Regions from separate parts of the Homo sapiens genome. Here region 2 is linked to region 1. Evidence: promoter capture Hi-C in 16 types of primary human blood cells and fetal thymus (Javierre and others, 2016). All regions are on one chromosome and are shown on one strand. The core of a region is centred on a gene start or on the middle of the fragment in contact, and the rest is flanking DNA. Distances in the headings are between cores, read along the strand shown. Region 1 holds the start of CLEC14A (C-type lectin domain containing 14A). Region 2 has its middle 130 kb from the start of CLEC14A.

Region 1 (3,183 bases), core at 521-3,020:
TCATGTTTCTTTCTTATAAGACACTAAGTTACCTAATTTAAACGCAAAGCCACGTTTAAGGTGATTCTCAGACATCTGAAGGAAGGACTAAGGAATGTTCTTTAAATTGGGAAATAGGGCAGGAGAGAAATCCTAGTGCAAAGCTCCATACTCAGCAAAAGCAAGGTAAGTATGATGATGACTCATAGGCTTACTGTTGTTTGTTAAGATACATGGAATTTCCAGGAGGAAAGAAGAATGAGAGTTATGGTAAAAATAAGATGGAAGCATACAGATGTGATCCTGAAACCTTCCCTCCCACCCCTCATCAACCTGAATGCAGTAAAACAAAGTGAGCTTATATGCATTATCCATGGAATGGCAACTTTCATTCTGATTAAAGATATTTAAAAGCATCAGACATCTCTAAGAGGGCTTAGCTGAAACTCTCTATGTATTTCTGATGGCAACGTATTTGGCCATTATGAACCAAGATAGAATGTACGTTTTCTAAACTGATACTGAATTGTCTAAGTTGCTAACAAGAAATCCTTTCATAACAGTACAGTTTTTAACCTTTACTTCTTTATTCATCTTTAATTCCTTGCCACTTCCCACTGAGTTGAAATGTTTATATTAAAACAAAACACCCACTGGAATTCTAAAGAAATTGGCTCACCCATCTTTCAAATTACAAGATATTTTTTGACAGTATACAATATTCATTATAATGGAATAAACATTTTAATTTCTTAAGGAACTCTAATTTTCCTTAAAGGAGATGTTTACAACTTACTATTATAAATGCTGCCACTCAATCATAGGAGAAAATGATACTAAAATAGTTCAAGGCTAAAATCACACATAGGGCAGTTGTTCTCGAATATTTATAAGGCCACGAACTCATTTATGTATAACCTATAAACTTGAAGAATTTTTGAACCAATACAGTGGCAAGGAAAGCTAACAACCTAACTGTTAAGATCTATGGTCATTATTTTTCATTTAGTCCTAGAAATACATTTCCTTTCTGTAATGAATCAATATGGTCTAACTCAAAGAGAAACACGTGGAAGTGAAAAATAAATTTCTAAAGCAAGTGCTGATGGAAGAAGCAGAATTTCCCATTTAAAATACCCAAACAACTCCAAATTCTTTAGTAGTTAGGACTCCTGAAATCTCTTGACATAATAGAGAAGCAAAGACCCATAGAGAGATATGCGGTTAAATAGTGCTGCCTCTGGTGGCAAAAGCAGTTGCTAAGTTGTTTCACAACATATTTTTCCCCCACAGGCACAGGCCCCCCAAACACTGGAGCCGTCTACGAATTATTCTGACGCTAACTCCACAGCTCCGGACAGAAACACAATAGACGGGCGTGGTCTTATAATCATAAGCCAGTTCCTTTCTCAAGTCCTTCCTGCCTATGTTCGCTTACGTGTTATGGGTTCTGCGGTCCTGATGAAACTCCCTGAACGGAGAAAAACCACACACTTCATCCCAGTGGCGAATTTCTCCTCTTGCTCTAAGCAGGGTGTTTGACCTTCTAGTCGACTGCGTCCCCTGTACCCGGCGCCAGCTGTGTTCCTGACCCCAGAATAACTCAGGGCTGCACCGGGCCTGGCAGCGCTCCGCACACATTTCCTGTCGCGGCCTAAGGGAAACTGTTGGCCGCTGGGCCCGCGGGGGGATTCTTGGCAGTTGGGGGGTCCGTCGGGAGCGAGGGCGGAGGGGAAGGGAGGGGGAACCGGGTTGGGGAAGCCAGCTGTAGAGGGCGGTGACCGCGCTCCAGACACAGCTCTGCGTCCTCGAGCGGGACAGATCCAAGTTGGGAGCAGCTCTGCGTGCGGGGCCTCAGAGAATGAGGCCGGCGTTCGCCCTGTGCCTCCTCTGGCAGGCGCTCTGGCCCGGGCCGGGCGGCGGCGAACACCCCACTGCCGACCGTGCTGGCTGCTCGGCCTCGGGGGCCTGCTACAGCCTGCACCACGCTACCATGAAGCGGCAGGCGGCCGAGGAGGCCTGCATCCTGCGAGGTGGGGCGCTCAGCACCGTGCGTGCGGGCGCCGAGCTGCGCGCTGTGCTCGCGCTCCTGCGGGCAGGCCCAGGGCCCGGAGGGGGCTCCAAAGACCTGCTGTTCTGGGTCGCACTGGAGCGCAGGCGTTCCCACTGCACCCTGGAGAACGAGCCTTTGCGGGGTTTCTCCTGGCTGTCCTCCGACCCCGGCGGTCTCGAAAGCGACACGCTGCAGTGGGTGGAGGAGCCCCAACGCTCCTGCACCGCGCGGAGATGCGCGGTACTCCAGGCCACCGGTGGGGTCGAGCCCGCAGGCTGGAAGGAGATGCGATGCCACCTGCGCGCCAACGGCTACCTGTGCAAGTACCAGTTTGAGGTCTTGTGTCCTGCGCCGCGCCCCGGGGCCGCCTCTAACTTGAGCTATCGCGCGCCCTTCCAGCTGCACAGCGCCGCTCTGGACTTCAGTCCACCTGGGACCGAGGTGAGTGCGCTCTGCCGGGGACAGCTCCCGATCTCAGTTACTTGCATCGCGGACGAAATCGGCGCTCGCTGGGACAAACTCTCGGGCGATGTGTTGTGTCCCTGCCCCGGGAGGTACCTCCGTGCTGGCAAATGCGCAGAGCTCCCTAACTGCCTAGACGACTTGGGAGGCTTTGCCTGCGAATGTGCTACGGGCTTCGAGCTGGGGAAGGACGGCCGCTCTTGTGTGACCAGTGGGGAAGGACAGCCGACCCTTGGGGGGACCGGGGTGCCCACCAGGCGCCCGCCGGCCACTGCAACCAGCCCCGTGCCGCAGAGAACATGGCCAATCAGGGTCGACGAGAAGCTGGGAGAGACACCACTTGTCCCTGAACAAGACAATTCAGTAACATCTATTCCTGAGATTCCTCGATGGGGATCACAGAGCACGATGTCTACCCTTCAAATGTCCCTTCAAGCCGAGTCAAAGGCCACTATCACCCCATCAGGGAGCGTGATTTCCAAGTTTAATTCTACGACTTCCTCTGCCACTCCTCAGGCTTTCGACTCCTCCTCTGCCGTGGTCTTCATATTTGTGAGCACAGCAGTAGTAGTGTTGGTGATCTTGACCATGACAGTACTGGGGCTTGTCAAGCTCTGCTTTCACGAAAGCCCCTCTTCCCAGCCAAGGAAGGAGTCTATGGGCCCGCCGGGCCTGGAGAGTGATCCTGA
Region 2 (3,558 bases), core at 203-2,702, 130 kb before region 1:
ATACTTATTTCATGCAGTCTCACCCTGGGTAAAGGAGCAATCCATCTGATTGATGAGACAAGGAATGAGGGAGAGCTTGGCATCCACTGGCCCTGGTAACAGGGGGCTGTGACAACACTGAAAGCAGGGGCCTCAGCTTGTTCCTCTCATGCTTGTTAAAGTAAATGAAAATAGAGACCAGGCTTGACGAATCACTGAGCAGACAAAGTCAGTTAAGCTTCATACATGACCTTAACCTTGCTTGATTTCCAAACATAAGCAAAACTTAACTTGAGCTATTTCTTGTAAATGTCTATCTTGAAGAACAACAGAACTTAGTCTCAACCAATCAAAAGTAGCCAACTAACTTATAATGATACAACTAGAGACTTTCCAATGGGATAGACCAAATAAGCCAACTGTGTGTAGGTAACCCATCAAATATTTCCTTTGCTTTACTTTCCTATTCATCTATATGTTTCCTTTATGGAGCTCCCAAGCTACTTCTGGTTTGGAGCTGCCAGATGCCTGAATTGCTGTTTGTGCAAATAAACTCTTAAAGAATGTTATTATGTCTCAGTTCACCTTTTAAACATCTCCTTGGACTTGTTGCTTTCAAATCATATGTTACTGCTGCTTCTTTACCTTTTCCCTCTTGGTGAACAAAAGAGGACAGATTTTCCCCAGTGTGGTGGGAGGCGTGTCATTCTCTAGCTTGTCTGATGGGATTGGGCACTGAAGTGTGGGAGATGTGATTCCCAGAGCCTAGGTTTAGTGAGGGTCATGGGAGACCCCCTGTGTTCTCTAGACATACTAACAAAGTTGTCTTGGAGTAAAGCATATGGATCAACCAGTTATCTCCGTTGTTTGTGAACATATGCTATTAGTCAGAATTCTGAAGTGGAAGTGGAGCATCTGGTAGTACTTTGGCACAAAACCTCAAGTGAGCTTTCTTTGTTTGGCCTTTGTTTATGTGTATGTGTGTGTGTGTGTGTGTGTGTGTGTTTCATATGTTTTCTAATTCTAAATTTTGAAATAATTTTAGACTTACAGAAAAGTTGCAGAGACAGTACAAAGACTTGCAATGTTTCATTTCTCCAATTTCGCTTAATGTTAACATATTGCCATACAGTGATATACTCATAAAACCTAGAAACTAACATTGGTACAATACTATTAACTAAACTATCAACTTAGTTCACTTGGGTCCTTATTCTGTTCCAGTAATCAATCCAGGATCCTATATTGTATTTAGTTGTCATGTCTCCTTAGCTGCTTTTGATCTGTGACAGTTTCTCTGTCTTTCCTTGTCTTTCGACCTTGACACTTTTGAAAACTAATGTTCAGGGGTTTGTAAAATGTCTTGCATTTTGGATTTGTCTTATGTTTGCTCATATCTTATAAAATGAAGTGATGTTAACCTTGATCTCTTGTTTAAGATGGTGTCTGCCAGGCTTCTCCATGAAAAGTTACTGCTTTCCCTTTTGTAATTAATAAATATTTTCAGTAAGGTAATTGGAAGCTATCTTGTTGCTCCATAAACTTTCTCTCACTAATTTTAGCATTTATTGGTTGATCATGGCTGTAGTGATTACTACTCTAGTGTTCTAATGGTGTTTTCTATCTCCTTCATTTCTTCTGCATTTATTAATTGGAATTCTTCTGTAAGAAACAGTTGTCCTCTTCCCCAATAATTAATTTATTTATTTACTCATATTAATATAAAATCATGGATATTTATTTTATTCCTTGGGTTATAATCCAATTCTATCACCATTGATCCACGAGGAGCTATTTCAGTTGGCTCCTGTGTCCTTTTAACATGCTATCATCTTTTTTGAAAAGCTGCTTTAAATTTGAATAATTTTAGATTTATAGAAACAATGTAGAGATAGTACAGCAAGTCCCCTAATAGACACCCTTTGCTCCTTTTCCCTATTGTTAGCATCTTACATTACCATGGTACAGTCATCAAAACTAAGAAATCAACTTTGGCACAGTACTGTTAACTAACTCCACACTTTTGGATTTCACCAGTTACTCCACCAATCTCTTCTCTCTGTTTCAGGATCCAGTCTAATGTATCACATTACTTTTAATTTTCATGCCCCTCCAGTCTCTTCTGGTCTGTGACCATTTCTTAGTCTTTCTGTGTTTTTCGTGACCTTAACAGTCTTGAAGAGTATTGACTAGGTATCTTGTAGAATTTCCCCAACTCTGGATGTGTCTGATGTTTTTCTCATAATTAGAATTAGGTTATGAGTTCTTGGAAAGTATCCCATAGAGCCAAAGTGCCTATCTCACCACATTATGTCAAGGGGTACGTGATATCCATGTGAAGTCACTGGTGATGTTAACCTTCATTACTTGGTTAGGATAGCGTTTGTCAGATTTCTCTTACCCTATTCTATGGAAGCAAGTCACTAATTACAGCTCACTCTTGTAGAAGAAGGGCTAGGAATAGTGATCCTCCTCCTGGAATGGAGAGTATCTACATAGTTATTTAGTATTCTTTTATCATAAAAATTTGTCTCTTCTGCCCCATCAGCCTTTGTTTTTTTTTCCCTAAGAATACATCCAATTTCTCTTCTCTGAGAGTTCCTTAGGCCACATCTCCAGTTTTTTTTGTGTGTTCTTATTTGTGTTGTTTTCTTCCTGATAATGGTACTTACTCTGTGTATGTTTTTAATTAGTGCTTCAAAGCTTCCCTGGACTCAATTGACTTGCCTTTTGACTAATCTCTTCCACTATTCTCAAGCCTCAGTCAAATGCCTAAGCTGTGCCACATTAGGAGGCTGTTTCTGTCTCCATTCACTGTCGCTAATCTCTTTACCAGCACAAATTCTGTAAATACTCCCCTTTACTTGTTCCTAATCAGAGGATTTTAGTCCCAGACAGAATACTGTCTTCTGACTAAGCTCACCTAGCATCGTCATGCTGCTTTTTCTTTTTTCTTTTACTACAGCTGTTGTTTATCTCTAACTCCTCTATTTTCCTTCTCTTTACCACCCACTCTACCATCTGGAAATCAGTGTATTTATTCTCTCCTTCTTTCTCTTTTCTTGGCACCCCAAGGGGGCTCGGTGAATCCATGTGGGCAGACGTTCAATTGCTGTTCTATTGCTTGACATCCCCTTTCCTCATGGTGACCTGGCCCCTGTGCACCTTTGCCTCACTCTCTCTTAATTTACTTTTTAAAGTTTCAGAAACACCACCTTTAAAAAAAAAAAAAAAGAAACAGCTTATACACAATTTACTTTATGTGACACTTATGTTCTTGTCTTCCATACTGTAAAGCACATAAACAATCATTATGATAGTCTTCCTAGTAAACGTTCCTCTCATTTATTGAGCACCCAGACTGTGCTGAGTGCTGTGCTATCTACATCATATTCATAGACTTACTGAAGCCTCACAACATGCTGTGTTATTGTATCCATTTTATAATGGAAAACAGGCTCAGAAGGTTAACTAACTTTCAAGTTAATTTTAAAATTCCAAAGTCATTTTTTCTTAACTTCCCCTGTAATTCTGGGTTCTTTTATCATCATTCAGCTGAATCTTGAGCCATCTCTCTAG

What was found. Contacts are between HindIII fragments. The CHiCAGO score rates a contact against its expected background, and 5 or more counts as called.
Region 2: a fragment that was not itself captured here is called in contact with the fragment with the promoter of CLEC14A in region 1 in 1 of 17 cell types (endothelial precursors); the score reaches 5.2 in endothelial precursors.

Annotation. Positions count from the first base shown.
Region 1 is chr14:38,254,680-38,257,862 of GRCh38, reverse strand. It overlaps CLEC14A (C-type lectin domain containing 14A), which reads left to right and starts at 1,770. Exons shown (of 1, transcript NM_175060.3): 1 at 1,770-3,183. The coding sequence starts at 1,841. LOC112268136 (a long non-coding RNA gene) reads right to left here and starts at 1,818. Exons shown (of 5, transcript NR_169588.1): 1 at 1,418-1,818. RefSeq lists an enhancer at 1,961-2,588. The HindIII fragment of the contact is 4,914 bases long and covers 1-3,183 here.
Region 2 is chr14:38,387,205-38,390,762 of GRCh38, reverse strand. No RefSeq gene overlaps it. Among named protein-coding and RNA genes, the nearest start is that of CLEC14A, 130 kb to the right of the region's middle. The HindIII fragment of the contact is 2,465 bases long and covers 220-2,684 here.